Linked DNA regions of Homo sapiens: all the other regions are linked to region 4. The links are contacts of gene promoters, found by promoter capture Hi-C in human tissues and cell types (Jung and others, 2019). All regions are on one chromosome and are shown on one strand. Each heading gives the region's core, a stretch centred on a gene start or on the middle of the fragment in contact. The rest is flanking DNA. Distances are from core to core; before and after follow the strand shown. Region 1 overlaps LRCH3 (leucine rich repeats and calponin homology domain containing 3). Region 2 overlaps RUBCN (rubicon autophagy regulator). Region 3 has its middle 40 kb from the start of FAM157A. Region 4 holds the start of RPL35A (ribosomal protein L35a).

Region 1 (3,043 bases), core at 441-2,940, 140 kb after region 4:
CAGAACAGAAATTACCCAGCCTGAACAACAGAGAGAAAACAGATTGGGGGAAAAAAAAAAAAAGACTGAACAGAGCAAGGACTTATGGGACTGTAACAATAATCTAACACTCATGTCATCAGAATCCTGGCAAAAGAGAAGGAGCTCAGGGCTGAATACTTCAGCATTTCTAAGGGCTGAAAAATGAACTGAAGTGAAAGCTTCCTAAGTTTGGCAAGAGTCATGAACCTGTAGATTCAAGAAGCTGAGCAAACCCCAAAGAGGATAAACCCAAAGACATCCACAAGACACACTATAGCCAAACTTCTGAAAACGGAAGACAGAGAAAAAAAGTCCTTTTTTTTTTTTTAGACAGGGTCTCACTCTGTTACCCCAGCTGGAGTGCAGTGGCACAATCATGGCTCACTGCAACCTCTACCTCTTGGGCTCGAGAGATCCTCCCACCCCAGTCTCCTGAGGAGCTGGGACTACAGGCACACACCACCACTCCTGACTAATTTTTGTATTTTTGGTAGAGAAGACGTCTCACTATGTTGTCCAGGCTGGTCCTGAACTCCTGACCTCAAGTGATCCTCCTGCCATGGCCTCCCAAACTGCTGGGATAACAGGCATGAGCCACCATGCCTGGCCAAGAAAAAAAAAATATTGAAAGCAGTAAGAGAGAGACAATTGAAATGACAGTAGATTTCATATCAGAAACCATGGAAGCCAGAAAGAAGTGGCAGAACATCATCCTTTTTTTTTCTGAGACAGTCTCACTGTCACCCAGGTTGGAGTGCAGTGGCACAATCACAGCTCACTGCAGCTCTGATCTCCTGGGCTCAAGTGATCCTCCCACCTCAGCCTTCCAGGTAGCTGAGACTACAGGCATGTGCCACCATGCCCAGCTAATTTTTGGAGAGATGGGGTTTCGCCACATTGCCCAGGCTGGTCTTGAAACTCCTGGGCTCAAGTGATCTGCTCATCTCGGCCTCCCAAAGTGTTTCAATTACAGGCATGAGCCACTGCGCCTGGCCCAACATCTTCCAATCACTAAAAGAAAGACTGTTCACCCAGAATTGTATATATATCCAGCAAAATGTCCTTCAGGAATCAAGAGGAGATCAACACATTCTCAGATGAATGAAAACTGAGAGAGTCTGTAGCAGCAGATGTAATCTAAAAGAATGAGTAATGGAAGTTCTCTAAATAGAAAGTAAGTGGTGAAAGAAAGGAATCTTAAAACACCAAGAAAGGACACAGCGTATGAGTTTGCTAGAGCTGCCACAATAAAATACCACACAGTGGGCAGCTGAAACGATACAAATGTATTTTCTCAAATTCTGGAGGCTAGAAGTCTGAGATGAAGGTGTTAGCAGGGTTGCTTTCTTCTGAGGTCTCTCTCACTGGCTTGCAGATGCTGTCTTCTCTCTGAGTCTTCATATCATCTTTCCTCTTTGTCTTTGTCCTAATCTCCTCTCACAGGGACATCACTTGTATTGACTTACAGCCCAGCCAAATGATGCCATCTGAACTTAATTACCTCTTTAAAAGTACTACCTCCAAACACAATCGCAGATACTGAGAGTTAGGACTTCAATGTATGAATTTGTGGGTGACGGACAAAATTCAGTACATAACACTAAGCAAAAATATGGGTAAATATAAAAGACTTTCCTTCTCTTGAGTTTTCCAAATTATATTGGAAGCAAAAATTATAAGACTGTTTGATGTGATTCTAAATATTTATAGAGAAAATATTTAAGACAACTATAACAGGGAAAGAAAAGGGACATGAAGGGGGTAAGGTTTCTATACGTCACTCAAACTCATAAAATAAGGATACCAATAGACTGACAAGTTGGACTTCTCTCATGTAATACCTAGGGCAGCAACAAAGAGAGCTACACAAAGAGATACACTCAAAAACACTACAGAGAAATAAAAATGGAATTCTAAAAAATGTTCACGAACCCCACAGGAAGGCAAGAAAAAGAACACAGAAAGGAAAACAAAGGAAACAACAAATAAAATGGCAGACTTAGGCCCTAACACATCAACAATGATATGAAATACAAATTATCTAAAAGACAGATCAAATGACCAAAATACAGAGATTAGCAAAGTGGATTTAAAAACATGATGCGGCCGGGCATGGTGGCTCACACCTGTAATCTCAGCACTTTGGGAGGCCAAGGCGGGCGGATCACAGGGTCAGGAGATCGAGACTATCCTGGCTAACCCGGTGAAACCCCGTCTCTACTAAAAAGAAATACAAAAAAATGAGCTGGGCGTGGTGGCGGGCGCCTGTACTCCCAGCTACTTGGGAGGCTGAGGCAGGAGAATGGTGTGAACCCGAGAGGCGGAGCTGGCAGTGACCCGAGATCGCGCCACTGCACTCCAGCCTGGGCGACAGAACGAGACTCCGTCTCAAAAAAAAAAAAAAAATGCAACTCTATGTTATTTACAAGAAACTCACTTCAAGTAGAAGGATATAGGCTGAAAGTAAAAATTAGCACCCAAACAGGAGAGGTCTAATTCCTCATTAACTCCCAATACCTGCTCCCCTAAAGCAATCACTTTTAACTCTTGTATGTGTGTATGCATGTTTGTTTGTTTTTTTTTTTTGACACAGGGTCTCGCCCTGTCGCCCAGGCTAGGGTGCAGTGGTGCAATCACAGCTCACTGAAACCTGGAACTCCTGGGCTCAAGTGATTCTCTGACCTGAGCCTCCTGAGTAGCTGGGACCACAGGAATGCGGAACCATGTCAGGCTAATTTTTCTTTTAAATCTTTTGTAAAAATGGGGTCTCAGGAGCCGGATGCAGTGGCTCACACCTGTAATCCCAGCACTTTGGGAGGCTGAGGCGGGTGGATCACTTGAGGTCAGGAGTTCAAGGGCAGCCTGGACAACATGGTGAAACTCCACACCAAACTAATTTTGTATTTTTAGTAGAGACAGGGTTTCACCATGTTAGCCAGGGTGGTCTTGAACTCCTGACCTCAGGTGATCCACCTGCCTCAGTCTCCCAAAGTGCTGGGATTACAGGAGTGAGCCACCATGT
Region 2 (3,394 bases), core at 38-2,537, 250 kb after region 4:
AAGTCAGCACACCCAGCTCTCTGTACATGGAATATGGTGAGTACTAGGAAGGCCAGGGCTAAAATTGTATATTTTCTCTGCTCACCCCTTGTGCCTGCTAAGTTCTGAGTTTTGGGGTTCATCTCAGCTCTCTGGAGGGTACACACTGTTACAGTCTCAGTCACTCTTTTGTCATTTTTAACCCCCGTGCTAGAAATCACACTGCTCTGCCATTTCTCTTGCTTCTCTCTGACTTGGGGGTCCCACCCTCTCTTACGTGCTGGGTGTTCGCACCGGGTACGTCGGCTGGTCCAGATGGGATGGCTCTCTGAGTGGATGAGATGGACCTTGAAAAGAGGCCTTGGAGTATCTGGGCTTAGTAACCAGCAGACAGACTCTATGTGGAAATCATGCAGAGGAGGAAGCCATTTGTGTCCTTTTCTGCCTCCCAGCCCAAAGTTCTACATTTTTATTTTGTTTTTTCTTTACTGTATGGTACGAGGGAGAGCATGTTCTCTTTAATTTTAGATGGCAGAAGGATTCTCTCTGTTTATTCTACCGTTTTCCAACCAAGAGGCTTAGTGCTCTGGGATTCTAAGAGTCCAAGAAATTCTTTTTTGTTTTGTTTTTTTTTTTTTGAGACAGAGTTTTGCTCTTGTTGCCCAGGCTGGAGTGCAGTGGTGCGATCTTGGCTCACTGCAACCTCCGCCTCCCAGGTTCAGATGATTCTCCTGCCTCAGCCTCCTGAGTAGCTGGGATTACAGGCATGTGCCACCATGCCCAGCTAATTTTTGTATTTTTAGTAGAGATGGGGTTTCACCATGTTGGCCAGGCTGGTCTCAAACTCCTGACCTTGTGATCCGCCTGCCTTGCCCTCCCAAAGTGCAAGAAATTCTTTTAGAAGGTGGACATCTTCTTCCAACCTCTAATTCCCAGTTACCTGGGAAGACTTGGGAGCATCTTTAATGACAAAAGCTTAAGACTTCCTGAAGAAGCCTGGCTGTTTCATCCACATTCCATTTCCCACAGAAGGTGGTCGGTACCTGTGCTCAGGGGAAGGCATGTTCCGAAGACCATCAGAAGGACAGTCCCTCATCAGCTACCTCTCTGAGCAAGACTTCGGCAGCTGTGCCGACCTGGAAAAGGTGGGAAATCGAGGGCCTCATGAAGAGCTCATGAGTTGGGAGATTGGGTCTGAAGGTCTGTGGTGCCATTTGTTCTGATGAGGTTTTGGGTATAGATTACAGTAAAGATAAGTTCACGGTAAAGGGAAGCTCAGCAAGTTCTGTTTCTGAGGAACTCTGCAGGGAGCATGTGCCCCTCACTGAGTCCAAATTATTAGCGATTTTATCTTAGAAGCCAACCTGGGCAGAGAAGCATCAAGTTTGTGTGTGTGTTTTTGTTTTTTTGAGACAAGAGTCTTGCTCTGTCACCTAAGCTGGAGTGCAGTGTCACGGTCATGGCTCACTACAGCCTCAAATTCCTGGGCTCGAGCAATCCTCCCGCCTCAGCCTCCCGAGTAGCTGGGACTACAAACATGCACCACCACACCTGGCTATTTTTTTTATTTTTTTGTAGAGATGGGGGAGGTCTCCCTGTGTTGCCCAAGCTGGTCTTGAACTCCTGGGCTTGGCCTCCCTAAGTGCTGGGATTAACAGGTGTGAGCCCATGTGTCTGGGGTCTTGAACTCCTTGGCTTGGCCTCCCAGAGTGCTGGGATTCACAGGTGTGAGCCACTGCGTCTGGGGTCTTGAACTCCTGGGCTTGGCCTCCCAGAGTGCTGGGATTCACAGGTGTGAGCCGCTGCGTCTGGGGTCTTGAACTCCTGGGCTTGGCCTCCCAGAGTGCTGGGATTCACAGGTGTGAGCCGCTGCGTCTGGGGTCTTGAACTCCTGGGCTTGGCCTCCCAGAGTGCTGGGATTCACAGGTGTGAGCCGCTGCGTCTGGCAGCATTGTTTTTGCTGCATGATTGCGGTTCCCTTGACTCTGGCACCTTAGGTAAATACTGTTTCCAGAATCAAATTCTATCTTTTGTTCTAAGGCTCAGATAAGCAATAAATGACATCTGTGTAGCATTTTATAGACTACAAAGCACTTTTATCTTGAGACATAGCATTTATCTTAATATTTTGTGTACAGGTGTATGATTTTGGGAAAGAACCTGATTGAAATCCTGGGCCTCTTCTCTATCATATTTTTATGTAGAAATGAGACAGGAAGGGACAGGCTTGGCAAAGTAAGAGAGTGAAGAAAACCTAGAATAGGTTTTCCAGCCATCAGCTTTCCTCGTAGTAGAAATGTCCATTTCTCCAGGGTGTTTTTGGCAGGAACAGTTCCTATCTTGGAAACTCCCTTTTCCACATTATAATGAGTATGTCATTCAATACTTCTAACCCTTTGCCTGTTTGGTGCTCTCCTTCCGCCAGGAGAATGCCCACTTCAGCATCTCAGAGTCCTTAATTGCTGCCATCGAGCTAATGAAGTGCAACATGATGAGCCAGTGCCTAGAGGAGGAGGAAGTGGAAGAGGAAGACAGTGATAGAGAGATCCAGGAGCTGAAGCAGAAGATCCGCCTTCGGCGCCAGCAAATCCGCACCAAGAACCTGCTCCCCATGTACCAGGAGGCTGAGCACGGAAGTCAGTGGAGCCTGTGGATGCTTCTGTTCCCACATTTTCCCAACTTCAGCATAAGGCCTGGTGCCCAAACCAGTGGTTCCTCTGCTGTCAGATGTTTCTATGTAGTCCTACTTTTTTTCTATCATGCTAGGAATACTCATCCTAGAGTCGCTCCGTTTCCTGCATCAGAAATACCTGCCTTCCAGGCCAGGCAGAGTGGCTCACGCCTGGAATCCCAGCACTTTGGGAGGCCGAGGCGGGTGGATCACTTGAGGCCAGGAGTTTGAGACCTGCCTGGCCAACATGGTGAAACCCCAGCTCTAAATATATATATGTATATATATAAATAAAGGAATAGCTCCCTTCCCAAATAGCTTCCTGATATGAGGAGACCTAAGAACACTGCTCCCAGATTTGCTTCCCAGATAGTAGTACCTTCTATTTACTTGAAACTTTCTAAAGGGAAAGTTTCCATTTCTCTCTGTTGAGGTCATATCAGATCCCTTATATTGTGACACTGGAAGGACAAGAAGACCTCTTTCTGCCCTGTTTATTCCTTTTTGTTTTTAAACATAACAGGCTTTCGGGTCACCTCCAGCAGCTCCCAGTTCAGCTCACGTGATTCGGCACAGCTCTCTGACTCTGGCTCTGCTGATGAGGTTGATGAATTTGAAATCCAAGGTAAGAAGTGACACTTTGTTACAAGGGAACTTTTATTCTGTTTCTTTCCATTTAGAATGATAAGCTGCGAAGTGTTTCCTAAGTAGAAGATCTTCATTATGGATTGTTGTTAGCTATTG
Region 3 (3,488 bases), core at 304-2,803, 160 kb before region 4:
ACCCACCACCATGCCCAGATAAGTTTTGTATTTTCAGTAGAAATGGGGTTTCACCATCTTGGCGAGGCTGGTCTTGAACTCTTGACCTCGTGATCCACCTGCCTCAGCCTCCTAAAGTGCTGGGATTACAGGCATGCGCCACTGCGCCTGGCGAGACTGGGTAATTTATAAAGGAAATGGTTTAACTGAGTCACAGTTCCACATGGCTGGAGAGGCCTCAGGAAACTCACAATCATGGCAGATGGGGAAGCAGGCACCTCTTCCACGACAGCAGGCGAGAGAGCATGTATGTGAAGCAAAGGGGGAAGAGCCCCTTATAAAACCATCAGATCTCATGAGAACTCACTCATTATCAGAAGAACAGCCTGGGGGGAACCACCCCCATGATCCAATCACTTTCTGCCAGGTCTCTCCCTCAGCACCTGGGGATTACAATTCAGTATGAGATTTGGGTGGGCACACAAAGCCTAACCATATCATGTAGCTATTAATTGCTTTTCAGATGGGTAATTTACAAATATTTTCTCCCATTCTGTGGGTTTTCTCTTCACTTTATTGTTTCCTTCACTTTAAAAAAGCTTTCTTACTTGCTGTAATTCCATTTGTCCATGTTTGCTTTGGTTGTCTGTGCTTATGGGGCATAGTTTAAGAGATTTTTGCCCAAACCAATGCCCTAAAGAGTTTCCCCAATGTTTTCTTGTAAAAGTTTGACAGTCTGAGGCGTTAGGTTTAAGTCTTTAATTCATTTTCATTTTTGTATGTGGCAAGAAGTAGGGTTCTAGTTTCATTCTTCTGCCCATGGCTTGCCAGTTTTCCCAGCCCCGTTTGTTACAGAAACTGTCTTATTTTTTGTTGTATGTTCTTGACACTTTTGTTGAAAATAGGTTTAGTTTAGCTGTATGAGTTTGTTTCTAAGTTCTCCATTTCATTCCATTTGTATTTATGTCTGTTTTTATTCTAGTGTCATGCTGCTTCAATTGCTATACCTTGATAGTGGCCAGCAGGCCCCTTGCAGAGGGCAAAGCAACGTGGAATCCGAAGTCACGCTCCGGTCGCCCTGTGACTCCTGCGTGTTCGGGGCATCCGGCTCTGGCTCCGTGGCAGGGCCCGGCCCGGCGATGTGCGGTCCGTGAACCGCGCGGGCGGAAAGCGGGCGGCCGCCTGCGCTGCGGCCCTTGGGTGTTTCGGGAAGTCGCCCGTTCCTCGGGAGTCGGAACTGCTGAGACTCTCTCCGCGGCGAGCGGACCCAGGCGGGCGATCCGGAGGGACGTGAGCGCCCCGCGGGCCCAGCCCTCGGCCCGCCCTGGAGGCGGGAGACCGCTTTCCTCCCCGTCCCTCGCCCCGTCGCGCCTCCCCTGCCTTTCTTCTGTCTTTCCCGCCTCTCTTCCTCCCTCTCTTTTCTCCTCTCCAATGTCCCCGCCGCCGTCTGTCTTTTCCTCTCTCCGTCTCTCCCTTTCTCGCTGTCTCTGTTTTTCTTCTCATCTCTATTTCTTCAACCTTATATGATGCTACTGTATCTCTGTGTTACTGTTATTTGTTGCAAGTGTACTTTGCAACAAAGTACGTTTCGTGAAGATATTTACATTCCCATTTAGACACGTTATTTAGGTATGTGCATTTGTTTAATAGACGTAAGGGTGTTTCAGACTTATTCTACAGCACAGTTTAAGCATAATTTTTATAAGCACTGACAACCCGAAAATTGTGTGACTCACATGCCTGTGATTTTTTTCCGTTGCACTGGTCTTGAACAAAAGCTCTACATCTGCAATTTATATCTGTGTGGTATCATCGAATCGCCCCGTTTACTGGAGTGACAGAACACGATTTCCCGACTACGACAAGAGCTATGGGCAGTGGGGAGGTCAGGGTTAGGATGACACAGAAATAAAGATAAGTCATTCTCTTTTTCACATCTATAGTAAACACTAATTCCATATGAAAGTAAGACAAAATTATCTTGAAATTTAAAATTCCAAACAACATCAATGTACATTATTACATATAATGAAAATTATAAAGCAACCAAATAATTAAAACAAATAATGAAAGATTGTATGACCTCAATATAAAATACAAGTAGAATATATGTTAAATATAACAAAATACACTTTATTGTAGTATATTATGAAATCTCCATATCCTGCAATACAATACAATCAATTGAAATGTGTAAGATACAATAGGATTTAATTTAGGATGTTTATAATGAAAACATGAGGCAGGTGAATAAATGAGTACACTCATTTACCATTTAATATATCGTTACTTAATTTTTTTGTAAAAATATTAAAAGTAAACACCTTGCATGGTAATTTTACTATAATTATATCAAACTTTAAAATGTGTAATCATTTTTCCACAGCAAGTGCTATTAATGTTTTTTGGATATTAGTACTTCACGGGTTCAGGCTAGAAGAGTGAGAGCCTACAACCTATTCTGAAATAAAAGAGGAGCAATTTCTTGGTAAGGCGGTTCATGCCTGTAATCCCAGCACTTTAGGAGGTCAAGGCTGGCGTATCACTTGAGTTCGAGACCAACCTGGCCAACGTGACAAAACTCTGTCTGTACTAATAATACAAAAAAAAAAAAAAAACAAAAATAGCCAGGCATGGTGGTATATGCCTGTAGTCCCAGCTACTTGAGAGGCTGAGGCATGAGAATTGTTTGAACCCAGGAAGCGGAGGTTGCAGTGAGCTAAGATTGTGTCACTGCATTCCAGCCTGGGTAACATTTCTTTTCTACAATCTAAAATATGCAAACTCATATGATCACATTCTAATATTTTCCTGATTACATAGAAATGCATGACTGTCACCAGACCTCCATATCTAACATGAAATATAAAATTTGTCTATAGCATCGGCCTTTTACAAAAAAGCTTACCATTCTGATTATATTGTTCAAATTTATTTCCTATGATTTCTTCATGTTCTGTCATTTATTAACACAGTGCATCTAATATTGTCACTGCTGGTCATCTAGAAAAATCTGAGCAGTAGCAGGTCCTTGTTCTCATTCCCAGAGCTGCATCCTCTGCTGAATAGGGCCAGGGTCCTCTCAGCTCAAGCCTCATCTGATCCACTGACATGCTCAGTTACATCATGCCCAAAAAAGGGTGAGCTTCTCTATTCAGGCCTCTATCCCCAGGACCAGACAGTGTGGCTGAGACAAGCCAACCCTCAGCAGGTAAGACTTAAGCTCCCTGGGTGGCAATGGCATAGAAGGTCTGCACCTGGGCACACAGAGGCCCCCAGATCCAAGTCAGCAATGTGAGCTGCTCTCAGGTCAGTGGAAAATGGACCTGCTGTGCCCACACCTGGGCTAGGTCTTGATAAGTAGCCTCCAGCATAGCTCCAACAGAGGTCACCAAGCTTTTTCCAAGTGCCGGTCATTGGAATCCTAGGGCCCCAGACCTGTGCCACTGGCTGTGCCCAGTGCAAGCCCTCGAATGTCCCTTATGGTGGGCATCACAGATCTCCTGGAT
Region 4 (3,160 bases), core at 294-2,793:
AGACTCTTGTCACAAAAACAAAAAAACAATACCAAGTACTTCAGCTAAATCTTTTGTTTATTATTTCAATAGGATAATGAGGCCAGGCGCGGTGGCTCAAGCCTGTAATCTCAGCACTTTGGGAGGCCGAGGTGGGCGGATCACCTAAGGTCAGGAGTTTGGGACCAGCCTGGCCAACATGGCAATACCCTGTCTCTACTAATAATACAAAAACTAGCCGGGCGTGGTGGCCGGCGCCTGTAATCCCAGCTACTCGGGAGGCTGAGACAGGACACTTGCTTGAACCCGGGAGGCGGAGGTTTCGGTGAGGGAGACCAAGTCACTGCATTCCAGCCTCGGCAACAGAGCAAGACTCCGTTATATAAAAAAGAAAATGAGGCAGATCTCAAAAACCCAAAACCTACCAGTGTCATAAACTTACTTCTTTGCTTTATATACATAAGCGCATCTCTTGCCCAAATAGAATTCTGTTTCATCTCGGGCGTAAACACCTTCAATTTTAAGAAGAGCTGTGTGCTCCCTTTGGTTCCGGAGACCCCGCTTATAGCCAGCAAAAATGGCCTTGGACCACAGCCTAAGACACAAAAGATACACAACATGAAACATAAGCTTCAAAAAACCAATCTGACTTGTAATCACCCCCACCCAAAAGTTACTCAGAGCAAACATCTAAGTTTTTTCTTGCCAATTTTAAGCTCGCATTTACGTTCACGTCTAACACACAAAAATAAAGAACTATATTTAAAACGCGTACCTTCCAGACATAGTTCCTTTTAGAAGTCCCGTTCCCAGCAGGCCTTAAAACAAACAAAAAGATTAGTTTAAAACCAAGCCACACAAGTTTCCCACCTCGTCCCCTCTCGTTTAAGCCCCTAAAGCAAATTCCTTTTGGATGGGAGTTTCATGTAGGAGTTCGGGGACAACAATGCCAGAACATCCATATGAAACGCAGGGTCCGGCAAGACATTCAAACCTCAGAGAACAGCTGGTATCTAAGCAAACTTCAGAATGAAGACAAAACTAAGGGACAGGAGTCACAAAAATGACTCTCAGAAAAGCCTGAGAAAATGCATGCCGTTATCAGTAGGCAACACTCAGGAAAAGAAATGAAGCCTTAAAGAGAAACACACACGTAAGACTTTTATGCAATGGCTGGGGGAGAAAAGCTGAGGAAAGAGACTGGTCAGACAAGCCAAGGAAGGTATGGACTGGGAGGAAACGGATGAAGGAAGCACTGCCTCATGGACAACTGCACACGAACAAAAACATCGTTTCACTCCGTTCAGGCCCAGGAATTTAACTGGGATAACCCGGGCAGCCGTTCTCCGGGTGTCAGGGGACCAAACACCATCAGCCCAACATCTCCTCCATCCTGTTCTCCCTCTTCTTGAAACCCGTAGAAATCAATGGCTGGCAGAGACTCCGATACGCACCGGCGACTCGCCAAGGCACAGGAACAAACCTACTCCGGTTATTTGCCCCCAAATTTCAGCAGCAGACCCTTCACTCACCTCCACAGGAGCCAAGATGGCGGTAAGAGAAGGACGAGGCCCCGCCGCGTGGCCTTGTGGGATTAAACATCTTTCGACTCCGCCCTCAATTTAGGCATCTTCTCCAAACGCCAGAAAAACAATCCTCGGAAATCGGCTTCGCACTGAAATAAGCCACATTCAATAGCACTCTTACAATTATTTTCCTAAGTCCTTTCATCTTGGTAGGCTGCAAAATGTACTACTTGGGAACAAGGGAAGGCAAAATGGTAGCCAGCTAAATCCGCCAAAGCTGTGCGTTGCCATAGAAACAACTTAGTTTACTTCCTGCGTCCCCGGACGCCGTAGGTGGAAAGGCGAACCCTGAGTGGAGGATGTTCCCGCTGCCTAAAGAATGATTGACTGTAAGATTGATTTGCCAACAGTGGGGTGCTTTTCTCTCGATACACACAGCAATAGACAGAACGGAAATTCTGGGATCCTAATCTAGCATGGAAGAGAAAGGCCGGGAGCACGAAGGCAGCAGGACCTCTTCCTTCTCTTTTTTCTTTTTCTATACTTCTTTTCTCCCCTCTACTTATTTATCTCTTTCAAGAAATGAGACTGGGCACAGTGGCTCACGCCTGTAAACCCAGCTCTTTGGGAAGCCGAGGCGGGAGGATCGCTTGAGGCCAGGAGTTCGAGACCAGCCTGGGCAACATAGTGAGACCACCTCCCCCAACCTCTACAAAAGAAAAAAAAAATGAATGAAATGACTTAAGTTCTTACCTCCATTCTTCTTTTTGGATCCGAGGTATGAGGAGGACTGCCTGCAGGAGGCTTTATCGCCCTTTTAGGAGAACTCGTTTAGCTGCCTCGTGTCCGCACCTAGTAGGTCCTCCGTAGATACTTGTAGAGGTGGATTAGTGGACGCCAGAGATTCACATTTCCGAATTATTGCATATTTATTTGGGTTATCCTATGGATTCATTCATTTATTTAACACATAGTTTAATGAATGACTACCCTGTACCAAGGTTTGTGTAAGATGACACGGCAGTAAACAAATCTATGCCCTCGTGGAGCTTATATCCTACGAGGCGGAGCAACACAATGAGCAAGTAAAAATAGATGACACGTTAGAAGATGATAATTTCTGTGAAGAAAATTAAGCAGAGAGGCCACTGTAAAAGAGGCTTTCCCCACTTTGAGATGGGAAGTATGTAAAAGAGGCTTCCCCTGCTTTGAGATGGGAACTATTTAAGGGTCCTGAACAGAAGGGTGACTCTATCTGACTTCTATATTGACAAAGTCACTGTGTTGAAAGTGAAGGGAGGCAAGGGTATCAGCAGGAAGATAATTATAGGTTCCTGTAGTGACTATGATGAGAGGTGATGGTGTGTAAACAGAGGATATTGAGTACTGGAATTCTGAATATATTTAAATTCTGGCAAGATTTGCTGGTGGATGAGGAATGAGAGAGAGTAAAGTATGACTCCGAAGTTGTATGAAATAGATGTATATAAGTCACTTTTAAAATCAGATCCTCTCTTAAATACAACAGGATAGAACTTGTACCTTGTAGCCTACTACCCCACCCAGTGTTCCCTGTCCCAGAAAGAAATGTGCTAGAAATTTCACTATTAGATATTGATTTGTCAAAGTTCTATATGGAAGTCCTCCTGGGAGGA

What was found. Contacts are between HindIII fragments. The study calls those that stand out against the background at their distance.
Region 1: a contact is called between a fragment that was not itself captured here and the fragment with the promoter of RPL35A in region 4, in 1 of the 25 tissues and cell types used here (hippocampus).
Region 2: a contact is called between a fragment that was not itself captured here and the fragment with the promoter of RPL35A in region 4, in 2 of the 25 tissues and cell types used here (dorsolateral prefrontal cortex and lymphoblastoid cells).
Region 3: a fragment that was not itself captured here is called in contact with the fragment with the promoter of RPL35A in region 4 in 2 of the 25 tissues and cell types used here (lymphoblastoid cells and thymus).

What each region holds. Positions count from the first base shown.
Region 1 is chr3:197,806,603-197,809,645 of GRCh38, reverse strand. All of the region lies in intron 1 of LRCH3 (leucine rich repeats and calponin homology domain containing 3), which reads right to left. Among named protein-coding and RNA genes, the nearest start is that of LRCH3, 17 kb to the right of the region's middle. The HindIII fragment of the contact is 8,087 bases long and covers 1-3,043 here.
Region 2 is chr3:197,693,596-197,696,989 of GRCh38, reverse strand. RUBCN (rubicon autophagy regulator) reads left to right here. Exons shown (of 20, transcript NM_014687.4): 8 at 1-36; 9 at 1,009-1,124; 10 at 2,405-2,615; 11 at 3,174-3,275. Among named protein-coding and RNA genes, the nearest start is that of MIR922, 21 kb to the right of the region's middle. The HindIII fragment of the contact is 8,342 bases long and covers 1-3,394 here.
Region 3 is chr3:198,111,452-198,114,939 of GRCh38, reverse strand. It overlaps the pseudogene FRG2FP. Among named protein-coding and RNA genes, the nearest start is that of FAM157A, 40 kb to the left of the region's middle. The HindIII fragment of the contact is 4,579 bases long and covers 1-3,488 here.
Region 4 is chr3:197,948,573-197,951,732 of GRCh38, reverse strand. RPL35A (ribosomal protein L35a) reads right to left here and starts at 1,543. Exons shown (of 5, transcript NM_000996.4): 1 at 1,512-1,543; 2 at 755-797; 3 at 422-574. The coding sequence starts at 765. All of the region lies in intron 2 of DRC9 (dynein regulatory complex subunit 9), which reads left to right. RefSeq lists enhancers at 1-275, 1,059-1,841, 1,921-2,140. The HindIII fragment of the contact is 11,846 bases long and covers 1-3,160 here.